Regions from separate parts of the Homo sapiens genome. Here region 1 is linked to region 2. The links are contacts of gene promoters, found by promoter capture Hi-C in blood cells and fetal thymus (Javierre and others, 2016). All regions are on one chromosome and are shown on one strand. The core of a region is centred on a gene start or on the middle of the fragment in contact, and the rest is flanking DNA. Distances in the headings are between cores, read along the strand shown.

The links. Contacts are between HindIII fragments. The CHiCAGO score rates a contact against its expected background, and 5 or more counts as called.
Region 1: a fragment that was not itself captured here is called in contact with the fragment with the promoter of PLAG1 in region 2 in 1 of 17 cell types (non-activated CD4 T cells); the score reaches 5.6 in non-activated CD4 T cells.

What each region holds. Positions count from the first base shown.
Region 1 is chr8:81,714,529-81,720,987 of GRCh38, forward strand. ZFAND1 (zinc finger AN1-type containing 1) reads right to left here. Exons shown (of 8, transcript NM_024699.3): 2 at 3,654-3,696; 3 at 2,721-2,760; 4 at 459-586; 5 at 276-367. Among named protein-coding and RNA genes, the nearest start is that of ZFAND1, 3.5 kb to the right of the region's middle. RefSeq lists an enhancer at 5,806-6,459 and silencers at 6,268-6,407, 6,438-6,459. The HindIII fragment of the contact is 1,170 bases long and covers 4,212-5,381 here.
Region 2 is chr8:56,207,439-56,214,539 of GRCh38, forward strand. PLAG1 (PLAG1 zinc finger) reads right to left here and starts at 3,835. Exons shown (of 5, transcript NM_002655.3): 1 at 3,683-3,835. It overlaps CHCHD7 (coiled-coil-helix-coiled-coil-helix domain containing 7), which reads left to right and starts at 4,351. Exons shown (of 4, transcript NM_001011671.3): 1 at 4,351-4,399. RefSeq lists silencers at 3,820-4,379, 4,222-4,447 and enhancers at 4,460-4,529, 6,100-6,599. The HindIII fragment of the contact is 9,849 bases long and covers 1-5,724 here.

The sequences.
Region 1 (6,459 bases), core at 3,547-6,046, about 26 Mb after region 2:
TGAATACCATTTCTAGCCCAATGGTTAACTAGCTAATCTAAGTGGCTCAGCAAAAGAGATAAGTACTTACAGTGGAGTACCTCCAAATAATTTCCAAATTTCCATCGGTCAGGTAGACCTCATAAGAAATACTGTCACAAGAATATCATCAAAATACAAGTTAATACGAATACCACTGGGGTTATTAATGATGCCTCCCATAATTGGAAAGTAGATATAAGAAGCAGGAGCTCTGGAACTAGGAAAGCAACAAAACACGCTTTCTAGATACTTACCAATAATGTCTTTAACAAGTTTCTGAGTGGCAGCCATTCGAGGCTTTGGGATTTCCAGTTTTTCACACTCATGATCTGACTGATGACGGTGTCTATGAGCAACAGAAGAGTGACACTAGTTCATGTGTTTGTATAGCACTTAAACAGATATACAAAGTGTGAACAGCCTAAGTGATCAATCACCTCAGGCAAAAATTCTTCTCACAATAAGGACATATAACTGCCACAAGTTCTCTCTCAGCACAGTCTTTGAAAGAGCATGGGTAAGATGTATGTTGATCTGTCTTCAGTCTCTCATTGATTACAGTCACCTGAAAATGCAAAAAGGAGGAAATGTATTACATTTCAGACCTAAAACAAATCAATGTGTCTTATTCTAGAAGGCAGTATTCATTTTATTTTTGCTTAAACTTATTAGAGCAAGTTACTTACTCTCAAAGATTATAAAGAATGTTTTATGTGACAAATGATTACTATACTGACTGTTCCACACTTTCATAATTTTCCTACTGTGGTATATTTGTCTTCTAAGTCAAGTTGAAATGACTATTTAATTACGCTCTATAATTTTAACCTGCTTTGTAACAGTCTCATACAAAGGTGCCCCTATGATATGCTCAGGTAATTATCTCATCAACCCTCAAATGGCAAGTCAACCTAATTTCCACACTAATTTTAGGAGATGAAACACTTAACTCAGAGAATAAAACACTTAAAAAATATTTATTTATTTGTGAGATAAAAGGTTAAAGACGGTTTTCATAATCATATATTATTCTCTATGCCCTATTTCATATTTTTATTACCAGCAAATACTCCACTACAGGAAGAAAGATTTTATAAGACTAAAAAAAAAAAAAAATTCTAAATCAGCCAGGCTATTCTGAGCATTAACAAACCAGGTTTCTAAAGACGAGTAAACGTAGGGAAATAATTGCTTGAAAACTACAACCAAAGGGAATTCCTTTTTATAAATAATAGTTACACCTTGTTGGAATTAATTTAAGTATCTTTTTGAACTTGTTGCAATGGCCTAATGATGTTTCAATATTTAATTAACGAGACCTAATTATCTGAGACACATTCAGAGGAATCAAATTATATCCTAAGAAAAAAGAAAACACAGGATAGATTTATAAACTGCAAGAAACTTCAGTAAGTTTTATTGTATGACTGAATATTTCCTCCAATTAATGCTGCATAAAATCAACATGCTAGGTAATTCAAATTTTCCTCAAATAGATCACGTAAACTTCAAAGGGTCAGATTTTGACTGATCATTTAAACTGGAAAGAATCAGATTTCAACTGAACCTCATGTAACTTTAATAACTTTCTATAACTGAGAGAACAGATGTGAAAATATTTGGTAAAGCACTTGGTAAATGGTGGGCAGGAATAAATGTCCACTGAAAAGTGTTAGAACACATTGAACATGGTGGGCTTAGCTTTCTCTCTTCCTCTTGGAACTGTACTGCCTTCAGGGAGAAAGCCTAACCTGGTCCAGTACTGCTGTGACTGCTGGGCAAGTCTGCCTAATTCTGGATATTCTTTGCAAACCCATTTGCTCTATGCTGAACTTCATCATTCAACTTATCTTTACCAGTAATAAGGGTAATATTTTGACTTCTATTTGCCAGACCTTTCTTAACTTATGATTTGTGCAAAATTAGGGTAGGAATTTTATTAAACTATAGGTTTCTTCCTGGTTGTCTTAAGTCGACTGAGCCAGAATGATTTACTACCACAGATCCTATCAGCAGGCATCAGTGAAAATGAACACAACAGTGAAGGACACAGTGAACTGGAGGGAATATATAAGGAGGACATTAACTTACGTGTATATTTATAAATATATAGCCTTGGCTGGGCGCGGTGGCTAACACCTGTAACCCCAACACTTTGGAGGCCAAGGCGGGTGGATCACCTGAGGTCAGGAGTTTGAGACCAGCCTGGCCAACATGGTAAAACCCCATCTCTACTAAAATACAAAAATTAGTCGGGCGTGGTGGCACGTGCCTATAATCCCAGCTATTCGGGAGGCTGAGCCAGGAGAATCACTTGAACCCCGGAGGCGGAGGTTGCAGTGAGCCGAGATCGTACCACTGCACTCCAGCCTGGGCAACAAGAGCAAAACTCCATCTCAAACAAAACAAAACAAAACAAACAAATAAATAAATATATAGCCTTATACTGTAAGTGGGCTACCTAAACAAATGTTAAGGAATAAAAATTATGAGGATAAAAATTTACAAATACCAAGTAAAACAATTTTTCTTTCAAACAAAGAAAAATAATATAAATGAAGCAAAAGCCTCTTTACCTAATCAGTTTAGTATGCCAAACTTTAATCTGTGATACTGACTGCCTTTAAATCTAATCAAATTCTGAATGAAAGTACATAAATACGAATACATTTTATCAGATTGGAAAAATACTAACATACCTCAGGACAACCATGAGACTCCCTGCTTCTGTGTTCAAGGCTTAAATAATAATAGCAAGTGTTTATTTAAATAACATACTTAAAGATAACTGCAGAAATTTGCGATATTTTAATGTTCAGTATACTTAAGATACATTATGCTCATACTACATTAATAACTTTGAATATGAGAAAAAACTGAAATGTCAGATAAAGATGGAGCATCTATAGTCTCAAAAGTTTTAAAACACAAATGTTCAACTTCAATATGAGTAAAAACAATTCACCACCCTAAATTACGTTTACGTTGCATGAAAATATAAACATATCTTTCAGCTCTTTTTATTTCTAAAAGATCATCAGTAGTAAAATGTGAAAAGTGCTCTAATTCCAAATAATTTAAAAATATACATTACTTTTATTTACTTCCAACAAATCATTCTGAATTACATTCTGAAAAAAATTCATTCTTTCAGTGCTCTATTTTATAATTTAAATGCTTGACATTTTAAAGTTTAACTGTAAGGAAAATCCATTTTCCAAAATTCTTCATTAATTCCCAGGTTTTACTTGGCATGTAATGTAGTCAAATGCTGTGATTCCTATTTTAAGGCATTTATAGGTTGGGCTCTTTTCATTTTATTAATTAAAATAAAGAGCAATAATTATAACTGGATCTTTACCATATTCTTTATATTGTGAATATTATTTTCTCCTTGTAATTAAAAGACAAAAATATAACTTTTATATAAAATTCACATACATAACCCCACTTTTGGAAGTTTAAAAATCAGTCATATATATGGAGAAGTAATCAGAGTCTATAACTATACTGAATATCAATAATCAATGGCTAAAGTAACAATTATTTTAAATCATTCTACTTTTCAGAAATAACCTCATATTAATAAACACTAAAATTACTCCCAAATCCTGCATAAAAACTTAACTTACCAAAATATTCCTGAACAATCATCACACACAAATGGAAGAAAATCTAAAATTGAGAGAAAATGTATATACTGGTCAGTATCTGATTTTGATTTAGTTTTCTTAAGCAAGAAGACAACCTCTATGGAAAAACTTCCCATTTTGACTAATATCCTAGTGTAGCAAGCACTATGTAACCACTCTAACAAAATTAATCACAACTTCAATAACTGACAGAAAGTAATTGGATTAACATAAGGTATTAATAGATGTTACTTGTAACTTTACTAAGTCAGACAAAAATAAGTTCTAGTGGTTTTCTTTTTCTTTTTTGTTTTGTTTCCCAGATTTACTAGGTGTTGTTTTTGATGACTGTATACTGCAAAAATTCCGCATTTGGAGTGAAAAACCTGGGATTCAATTCTGATTCCACTGCTTACTAATCTAACAGTGCTAGGCAAGTTACTTAACAGTAAAACTTTGGATATATATATTTTTATATATATCCAATAAATATATATATTTATATCTGTGTACTAATATATATGTGTGTGAACAACATATATATATATATATCGCCAAAGCTTGACTATATTCAAATATATTTATATTTATATATACACCTATAAGATTTATGGTATTTCAAATATATATAATTTGATGTAATATATAGTACAGTTAGTATAAAGTATATGTGTGTGTGTTTCTATATATGTATGTAAATAAACATATACAAAACCAAAGCTCTTTTATTGGGTAAGAAAAATAGAAAGATATAGACAGGTAGATACAGAGACAGATATAAAGATACAAGCACATCCTTTCTGTGTATATATGTATATGTGTGTATGCATGTGTATCTATATCTGTATCTATGCTGTATGCCACACCGACCTCACAGTGTACTTACAGAAACCAAATGAGATATATATGAAAGATCAGAATAGTAATACAGTAACTATAATTAATAAGAATAATACAACAATTAACTTCTTTTGAGTATACTCAACTCAGAACAGTACTGCAAGGGGCCAGGCACAGTGGCTTAAGCCTGTAATCCCAGCACTTTGGGAGGCCGAGGGGGGCGGATCACCTGAGGTCAAGAGTTTGAAAACAGCCTGGCCAACATGGCGAAACCCCATCTCTACTGAAAACACACACACACACACACACACACACACACACACACACACACACAAATTAGCTGGGCGTGGTGGTTCATGCCTGTAATTCCAGCTACTCAAGAGGCTGAGGCAGGAGAATCGCTTGAATTCAGGAGGCAGAGGTTGCAGAGGGCCGAGATCGCGCCACTGCACTCCATCCTGGGTGACAGAGCCAGACTCCATCTCAAAACAAAACAAACAAACAAACAAAAAAGGACAATACTGCAGTGACTGGGTGGAGATGCTTAATATTTTGCGACTTTTAATAATCAAGTATTAGATGCAAACCAGAAGGACCCAGGGGAAAGAGTTAAGTCAAGACAACTTCCCAGCACCTGATACCATCCTTCAATCCCTCCAGAAGGTAGATAAAATTTAGGATATACACTTGACGTAGTCTAAATCTTAACTGCTTTCCACTAGTCCCAAACAGATAGGCCTGGCCTCATCTCAGTTATTGACACTAAAGACATATATAGCTGGAAAGGAAAATGAACTATGTCATGAATGGCATATAATGTGTATTGGACTCACTAGCGAAGGATCAGGCATAGACACACATAATTCACAGTCAAAACCCAAATGGCTAAGCTTCCACATGAAAAAAGTCACACTGGCTTGTTATTACAGCCAGTGGTGAAAGATAGATAGATAGATGGCTATAAGTAACAAGAACCTAGAAGGGATTGTGTCACCTGTCCTATCACGCATTCCCACAGTAGAAATCACTAATCAATTATGGAACTCCACTGAAACTGGGCTAAATCTCAAGAGTCTTTGACACGGTAATTCAGGCACTTGATACCAATGACTGAAGTTCCAAGGGGAGATTAAACCTGTTTGCTACCTTATGTAGTGTGTGAAACCTAGTAACAACGACTGAGCAGTCTGTGTGGTTCTAATGCTTCAAAAACTTGCCTTTTCAAGGTGTATGGCATCCTGAAGCCAATGCCACATCACCTTGGACTAGGTATATCCCAAGGTCTCTCAGTGCAATGGGGAGAGCCCATTGCCATATTATTAACTAATTCTCTCTAAAATGCAGCTTACTAGTTGGAAAGGTCTTCCGTGTAAAAGACTGTAGTTTACACCCTTATGTGGTCCAAGCACCAAAATCAATAATCTGTAAATGTTTGTTCAAACAATAATAATGAGAATCAGGGAATGACAGAGCTGGGAGAGCATGATGACCATTTGGTGGAATAATCTGAGGATCAGGATGCCTTTGAGAATTTGATAAAAGCTAAGGAAGGGCCTTCTTCCGGACACACATCCACGTGAACACTAGTTGGGCGAGTTGACCTCCCCCAACTCCTCCTGACAGCTACGTAACAGATAAGTAAAAAAAAGTATGGGAAAGTAGCTGGCCGTAGGTCGCAGTGGCAAAGCCAAAAGACAACAGTCCCAGACCAAACCTACGCGTCCCCATACCCGCGCTCAGCAGAGTAAGTGTGAGCCACGCGATCCAGCAGTGGGCTTCGTGCACTGCTCGGACACGGCACACTCGAACACCAAAATGAACACTGCAAGGTACGTTTTCAGGAATTGCATGGCTTCCTTCCAAGGAGACCACACGTCATTTCAAAAGCTCACGGCCAAAAAAAACCCGCACCAACCGATCTCACTGCAGCCCCAGAAGAAACGCTCCCACCCCGCTCCTCAGGCCC
Region 2 (7,101 bases), core at 2,585-5,084:
CAAATTTTAAAACTATACTGATAAAGCAAATTCACTAATTTATTTTGCTATAAATATCTATTTACTATTTACTAAAATATTTTGGTAATAATATACAGATATAGAATGTGTCAATATTAGCCCACACTTATAAATCTTCCACAGCAGATAAATTCTTTATAGAATTTCAAGTAGCAAAAGTAGGCATATAAATTTCAAATAAGACTATCAATATATGAGGTTTCTCCGATTCCAACTGAAATAAAGATTTTGACTACACAATATCATGACATTATTTCTGTATACTGGTATAATTTAATAGCTTCAGAAAAGGATGTTCAACAGGTAGTATTTCTAAGGCATCACAAAAGCTCAGTACAATCACTTCAAATTAAATATTGTGCTGTGCCCCATCTAAATAAGACTCTCTAAGCGATTACAGATTTTAGATTGGTGCACTCTGAGTGCGTTTTCTGAACAGACAAGTAGCTAGTTGCATAAAATACAAACATGAAGAAAGTTTTACACCACCCTATATGAGAGGAAGAAAAAAAATCACAATACCAGCACTTTTATTTAGATTGACAATAAACCAGTCATAGTGTCCAAACAACCTGAATAACACGATAATCTAATATAACTTGAATTCCTTCATTTTTTTATAGAGATTGAATTTATTGATATTAGTATCTGGTTTGTCAAAGTGGCAATTATTCAAGATCTAAGTCTCATTTATTTTAAATGCACAGCATAATTCTGACTACTTATAGTCAATGTAACTGTCTTGAGCCAAAATACAATGAAAACGTAAGATAAAATGAAAAGGCTTTGTAAGTCTTAATGGCATTCTGAAACCTCTGGACAGAAGATCATTGGGCATGGAGGAGTTTCCCTTCTCTATTGATAGCTTAATCCTTTTCCAATCAATTTTGATTTAACTGTGGGTGATGAGATTAATCTTTTAATGAGTTCTTAGAAAGTTGTAATTGCTTCCAAAATCAGAAACCACAAGATGATGTACTCAAACACGTTACTGATGTGATGTTGTATAGAGGTATTTACAGAAAGTTGGAAGAACTCAGTTGTAAACACAAGTTAACATACAATAGACTACAAAAATAATAACTTGTTTATACAGTAGGGCAAGAAAAAACATTCTATATAAGAAGTCTAAAAATTCAGCTCTAATTTTAATCCATGTCTATAAATAATAAAAACAAGAGGAAATAAGGATTTATTTCAGAAACTCCATATACCTGTGGAAAATGGAACACAAGTAATTTCTACTGAAGATTAACCTTAATCCCCATTATAGTACAGCTAACAATTTACACATTTTAAATTTTGAAAATATCGTGGAAATCTAAAACATAAGAGCCGATAGTAGTTTATGGTCAGTAAACACTTTCTGTTAAATAACACAAATAAATTCAACTTAGAAAATGAAAACTCACAGGGCTCAGGATTTTAAAAATCTTTTCATTTCAAAGGCGCAAAGTTACAACCCATGCATAGGATGGACTTTAAAAATGGATGTGTAAACTTTTCCATGGTGTTGGTGTGTGTGCTTTCCTTCCCCCTAAAGAAATGCCTACTGCTTACAATTTTAAAGAATCTTCACCACTCTGTAATTTTCAACCAGAAGTCCTCAATGTACCTTAAGCCAAATTGAATATTAAGGTATTTTACAGTTTTTACAAAATGGCTGTAAAATCACATTATGGGCATACACAGCTCTTTGATCTCACTGCACAGAATTCATAACTGTTCAATAATGCTATACCATTACACCACACACCTTAAACTATTTCCATTTTTCCACAATTCCTTCCAAAATCAGCTTCCAAAGCAAAGCAATGTAACATGAAAAGTTCCTGGGAGGGCTTGTTACACAAAGGAACAGTTTGGATACAAACTATACACATATCCATCTTCGGTTGAGGCTGTTTATCCCTCCTGTCCCTCCATCACTCCTATGGGTGGGTGCACTGGAGTAACAGAAAGGGAAGGCTCTTCCATCACCACACCCTCCCAGCACCTCTGCTTTTGGTCCTCAGACAGTGATTCTGTGTAGGTGATGAAAACCATAAGAAAAGAGAAGCTGTCCCTTTAAAATGCCCTGCTCTGTCCCATATCCCACGTGGAACCAACATCAGCAGCACTTTCCCATTAACATCAATGTGATGCAAGAGACATCATCCTTTTATACACATAAAACCAGAAAACCTCAGCTTAACATTCTTTAGGAAGGATGAACAGGTGAAGCAAACATGTCAGGAAGGGGGAAACCAAGCAACTCCACATCCCTCCCCAAAAGGTACTCCAGCCTTGCACTCCAGCCTCTCTGAGCACCATCACCTCTCTATCCCTCCTCTGCAGAGCCCAGTTTAAAGAAAGGAGGGAGCCACTAACAAAACCTGAAGCATAAATGCGACGAAAATGCAATCTAAAGCCGGAAAGGTTCATTCTTCCAATCACACATATTAACTCTATTAAGAAAATGGCATCACTTTTTTTTCCACCCAAAAAAACCCCGCAAAGATCATTAAAAGAGAGTTATAAAATAGCAAATATAGTGTTTATCTTATCTGAGATCAGTCCACATTACCAATAAGTTTAGCAGTTTCTGCACTACCACCTCCCCCCTCGCTCCCCCTGCTTCTCTTGCATCGGATTTTCACGTTTTCTCATTGTCGGTTGAGTTATAAAAGGCTTTTGCCCTTCGAAAGTTTTAAAAAATAAATAAATATTAACTCCTTGGTCCCTGCAAAGTCAAAATGGACTTCAGGGGAAAGGCGGTACATACTTTTACCTTTAGCGAGAAAAGGGGGAGCATCCCGGATTTTTAGGGATTTTTTGCGATTTTTTAAAAATTTTTATTTGGTTATATGCCTGAGTTCTCCCTCCATTTTGGTTGTTTATGATACTGACAACAAGCTGTCCCTGCTCTGTGCCGATCTCCTGCTTTCATTTAGCACCCCCTCCCCCTACCCCCCCTCGCAGCCACACACCCCGGGCTCACACCTCCCTGCAGACCCCGCACCCCGACCCCGGCTTGCCCACCTGAGGAAAGGGCAAAAACAAATTCATTTCTCCAGAAAAGAAAAACCTCTTTTGAAAAAGGGGCAAAGTTACCCCAAGTCACTCAAAGTGCCCCCCAAATATTGCCGACTGCGGGTTTCCGCCAGGCCCTTTGGGAAGCGACCTTCCCCCGGGATGTTTTGGTGGAAAATGCGGAGAGTTTACTCTCAAAACTGAATTTATATTAATTTTTCCCTTATTTTTCGGGTCTCTAATGTCTTCCGCTCTCGCTGCTGCCGCTGCCGCTGTCACAATATTCACAGCACCAGAGAGGAGGAGGAGGAGGAGGAGGAGGAAAACTTTTCAAACTTTCCAGACCCTGAATAAAGGTTTTTTTTTTTTTCCCACCGACCTCACCTTCGGGTCCCCAGCCGCATCGCCCCCTGCCCTGTCAGAAGCGACTTCGGGAGTCCTCGCAGCCCCGCGTAATTATTTTATTTTATTTTTTATTATTATTTTTCTCTCTGGGGTCCTGAGCAGGGGCTGAGAGTAGCACAAACTTTTCCTCCTCCTGCCGCCGCCGCTGCTCCTCTGCCCCCTCGGCTAGTCCCATAATTTAAATAACCCTGATATTTCTCCCGCTAAACGCCTCGCCGCCGCCCCGGACCCCCGGAGAACTCACCGCGGGGCTTTAACATCCTCCCTCCGGCCCGTCCGCCGCCTCTACACCGCCCGCGGAATTTCTAATAATTTTTTTCTCATATTTCGGGCTGGACGCGGCGGGCCTGGAAATTGTTTCCTTACGCCTCTTTCCAGCAGCCATTGTAGTGTATGCGCTGCCCCTGCAGCCCAACTTGCAGCTGCCGCCGCCGCCGCCGCCGCCGCCGCCGACGTCGCGCCCACCGCTGCCTCCCCCTGCCTGTTCGGCCACCGCCCCCGCCTCCCGTCGGCCCGCCCCCAAACCCCGCCCGCCGCTGCGCCCGCCCCCCGCGCGCGCTCCGCCCGAGAGCTGGCCACTCGGAGCCGCCGCTGGCGGGAGTTGGCCCGCCCATTGGGCCGCGACGCCGCCCGTCAAGCCGAAGTGTTAAGAGACGGGCCGCGGCTGGGGGGCGCGGTGGGGCGGGGGAAGAGGGGGCGGGGTCGCGCTCACCGCCCCGCCCACTCCTCCCGCCTCGGCCCTCCTTTCGCCAGGCGGGGGCGGGGCGAGGCCCGACCGCCCCTGCGGCCCAGGGCCCCGCGCGGCTGTCAGTCTGGCGGCGGCGCGCGCCGATTGGGCGGGCTGCCGCCGGGGAGCGGGGGCAGCAAGTTGGGATGCGCGCTACTTAAGGTCCTGCTGCGTGAGCCATTGACGTGTTTGGAGCTGGAGACGGCCTGGGTGCTGGCGAAGCGGAGGCCGGAGGTGAGTGGTTCCCCCGCCCTACCTCCGAAGCGGCCGCAGAAAAGCGGGGAGAGAGGGGTGCCCTTGGGCCGTAGCGGGGCCCGAATGCACTTCTGCGGCGCGGAGGCGCTCCCGCCAGGCTTCGCCGCAGCGCGGACCTCTTCCCGTTGCTCTTCCTCCCGCCACACGGGTCTGTTCGCTCCGGGGGCGAGGAAGATGACCTCTGCCTAGTCCGGGCAACCCCAGCTCTTCTTCCACTCTCCTGTGTAGCCTCTGAAGCGCAGTTACCGGCCCCACCCCCAGTTCCCTGCGTTTTCCTCGCCCCTTGTCTCTCTCGGCATGGTCTCGGCACAGCAAGGTGTGTTCACCTGTGCGCGCCGTCCAGGATCAGATGCTGACGGGCTACACCGCGGAAGGCGGCGAGGCCTCGGGTTCGCCCTTCGTTTCTCCTTGCCCTGCGCGCCCACCTCCGGCAGGCCACCCTTGACTTCTTGCCCCCTTCCACTTTGCACCTGGCAGTGGGTTAACGGCACGGCGTGTGCAGCTTCCGGGTTTAGCAGAGCCGCGGACCCTGCCTGGGCTCCGACCACGGGGCGTGTGGGCATGAACGTGTTCAGAAACGTTTCCTTCCCCCTGCCCTTTCAAAGCTACTTAGAGAGGGGGGACGTGAACCACTGGATGGGAAATCAGGAACTGCTTTATTAAGCAGTTTGCCCTTTGGAGTGGATTTTAGAGTTATCCCCTGAATGTGCTATGGTTTTGTGGCCCCTCCTTCATATCTTTGCTTGGTTTTTCTTTCTGGTTATGCTCTGCAAGTAGTAGAGCCTTGTAACATTTATTTAGTACATTCAAAAAGTAATAGACAAGGCCCCTTTAGCGGAGCACTCGATGTTGTAATTCAGCCCCGCTCCTCACTGTAAATTGACATTTCCTCTTCAATTCCAGTTAATACACGAGGAACTCATGCAAAGGAGGGGACTTTCGGAAATCCAAACTTAGAGTGCCTTGTATTTAGAATCCGGAAGGAAAAGGAAATGAAATGTGAAGAAACTCATGCACCAAACTCGAACTGGGTATATGTGATGTTACCTAGGTATTATTTTTGAAGAATTTCTGACTGACAATAAAATATAGAGTAGGATACTTTCATGTAAGGCACGAAACTTAAATTTAATGCAAGGTTGTCTGATCCTTGTTGAGATTATTAAATCTAAGGTGTATGAAGAGTTCTGTGTTCTCACATCATAGGATAGGTGTAAAAAAGAAAGCTGTGAATTTATTTACTATCATCATCTCTCTTAGGAAGAAGGGAAGTGTGGAAAAAAATTGTCTTCAGGAGAGGAAGAAGCTTGTAGATATAATTGAACAGCATCTTGATTTCTTTTTTGCCAAGATGTTACTGTTGGCTGGTTATTTTCTTGTATTGTTCAATGAAAATCATAAAATTATTATTCAGTGATTACTTAATGGACACCAGAATAACCAAACCCTTTTCCATTCTTTTTTTTGCAAAGGCTGGTCTCCTTTGGCCTGGACGTCCTGATCTTTCCCATAGTAGAACTGGGCTGGGTGTCTCTTTTTTTTTTTTTTGAGACGGCGTCTTCCACTGCTGTCGCTTGGGCTGGAGTGCAGTGGCGCGATCTCGGCTCACTGCAACCTCTGCTTCCCAAGTTCAGGCGATTCTCTTGCCTCAGCCTCCTGAGTAGTTGGGATTACAGGCGCGTGCCACCACGCTCAGCTAATTTTTGTATTTTTAGTAGACAGGGGGTTTCACCATGTTGGCCAGGCTGGTCTTGAACTCCTGACCTCGTGATCCGCCCGACTCGGCCTCCTAAACTTTTGCAAAGCTGTATCTCTAGGAATTGAATTGGAAGATTACTGAAGCACAGTAGCATTCCCTGACTTCCTGCAACGCAGGGAAATAGTTAAAAAGAAGATGCCACTGGAAGTAAAATTTCAACTCTTTTGTTTTTGAAACAGTATAGCTTTTCATAATGTCAACTAAGCAATAACTTGGCTTTTTGGTGTGTTGGCTACCCTACTATTGGCCATAAAATAGGCACTCTGGTACTTCAGTTGATGAATGTTTTTGCTAAAGTTGGACTGTACCGAATTTCATTCTTATTTTGTACGCTAATTGGTGTAAAATAAGGAAGTAATTGTTGGAATGCATACTGTATTCTTAGGTTTTATTAGTACATTTGGTTGCTTAAACTTAAGAATAAGAGTAAACAACAACTGAATTATAATTGAACTATCTTTCTTTTTCGTTTTTTTGAGACAGGGTCTCTCTCTGTCACCCAGGCTGGAGTGCACTGGTGCAATCACAGCTCTCTGCAGCCTTGACTTCCTGGGCTATCCCACCTTACTTAGCCTTCCAAGTAGCTGGGACCACAGGCACACGGCACGACACCAGGCTAATTTTTGTATTTTTGGTAGAAATGGGGTTTCTCTGTGTCGCCTAGGTTGATCTCGAACTGCTGAGCTTAAGCAGCCCTCTCGCTCCAGCCTCCCAAAGTGCTGGGATTACAGGCGTGAGACACCGCACCCAGCCAGTAGATGCATTTCAATCCAATATATGGCCTTTGTGTTGAGGCATGGCAATACAAAGGAAAAACACGTTCAAGTTTTTATTCACAAAGTACAGAGAATACATGAAGTTCCTCACTAAGTGATCATTATGCCAAAATCAAAATTTCAGGTACTTTTAGTGCTATTGAGAT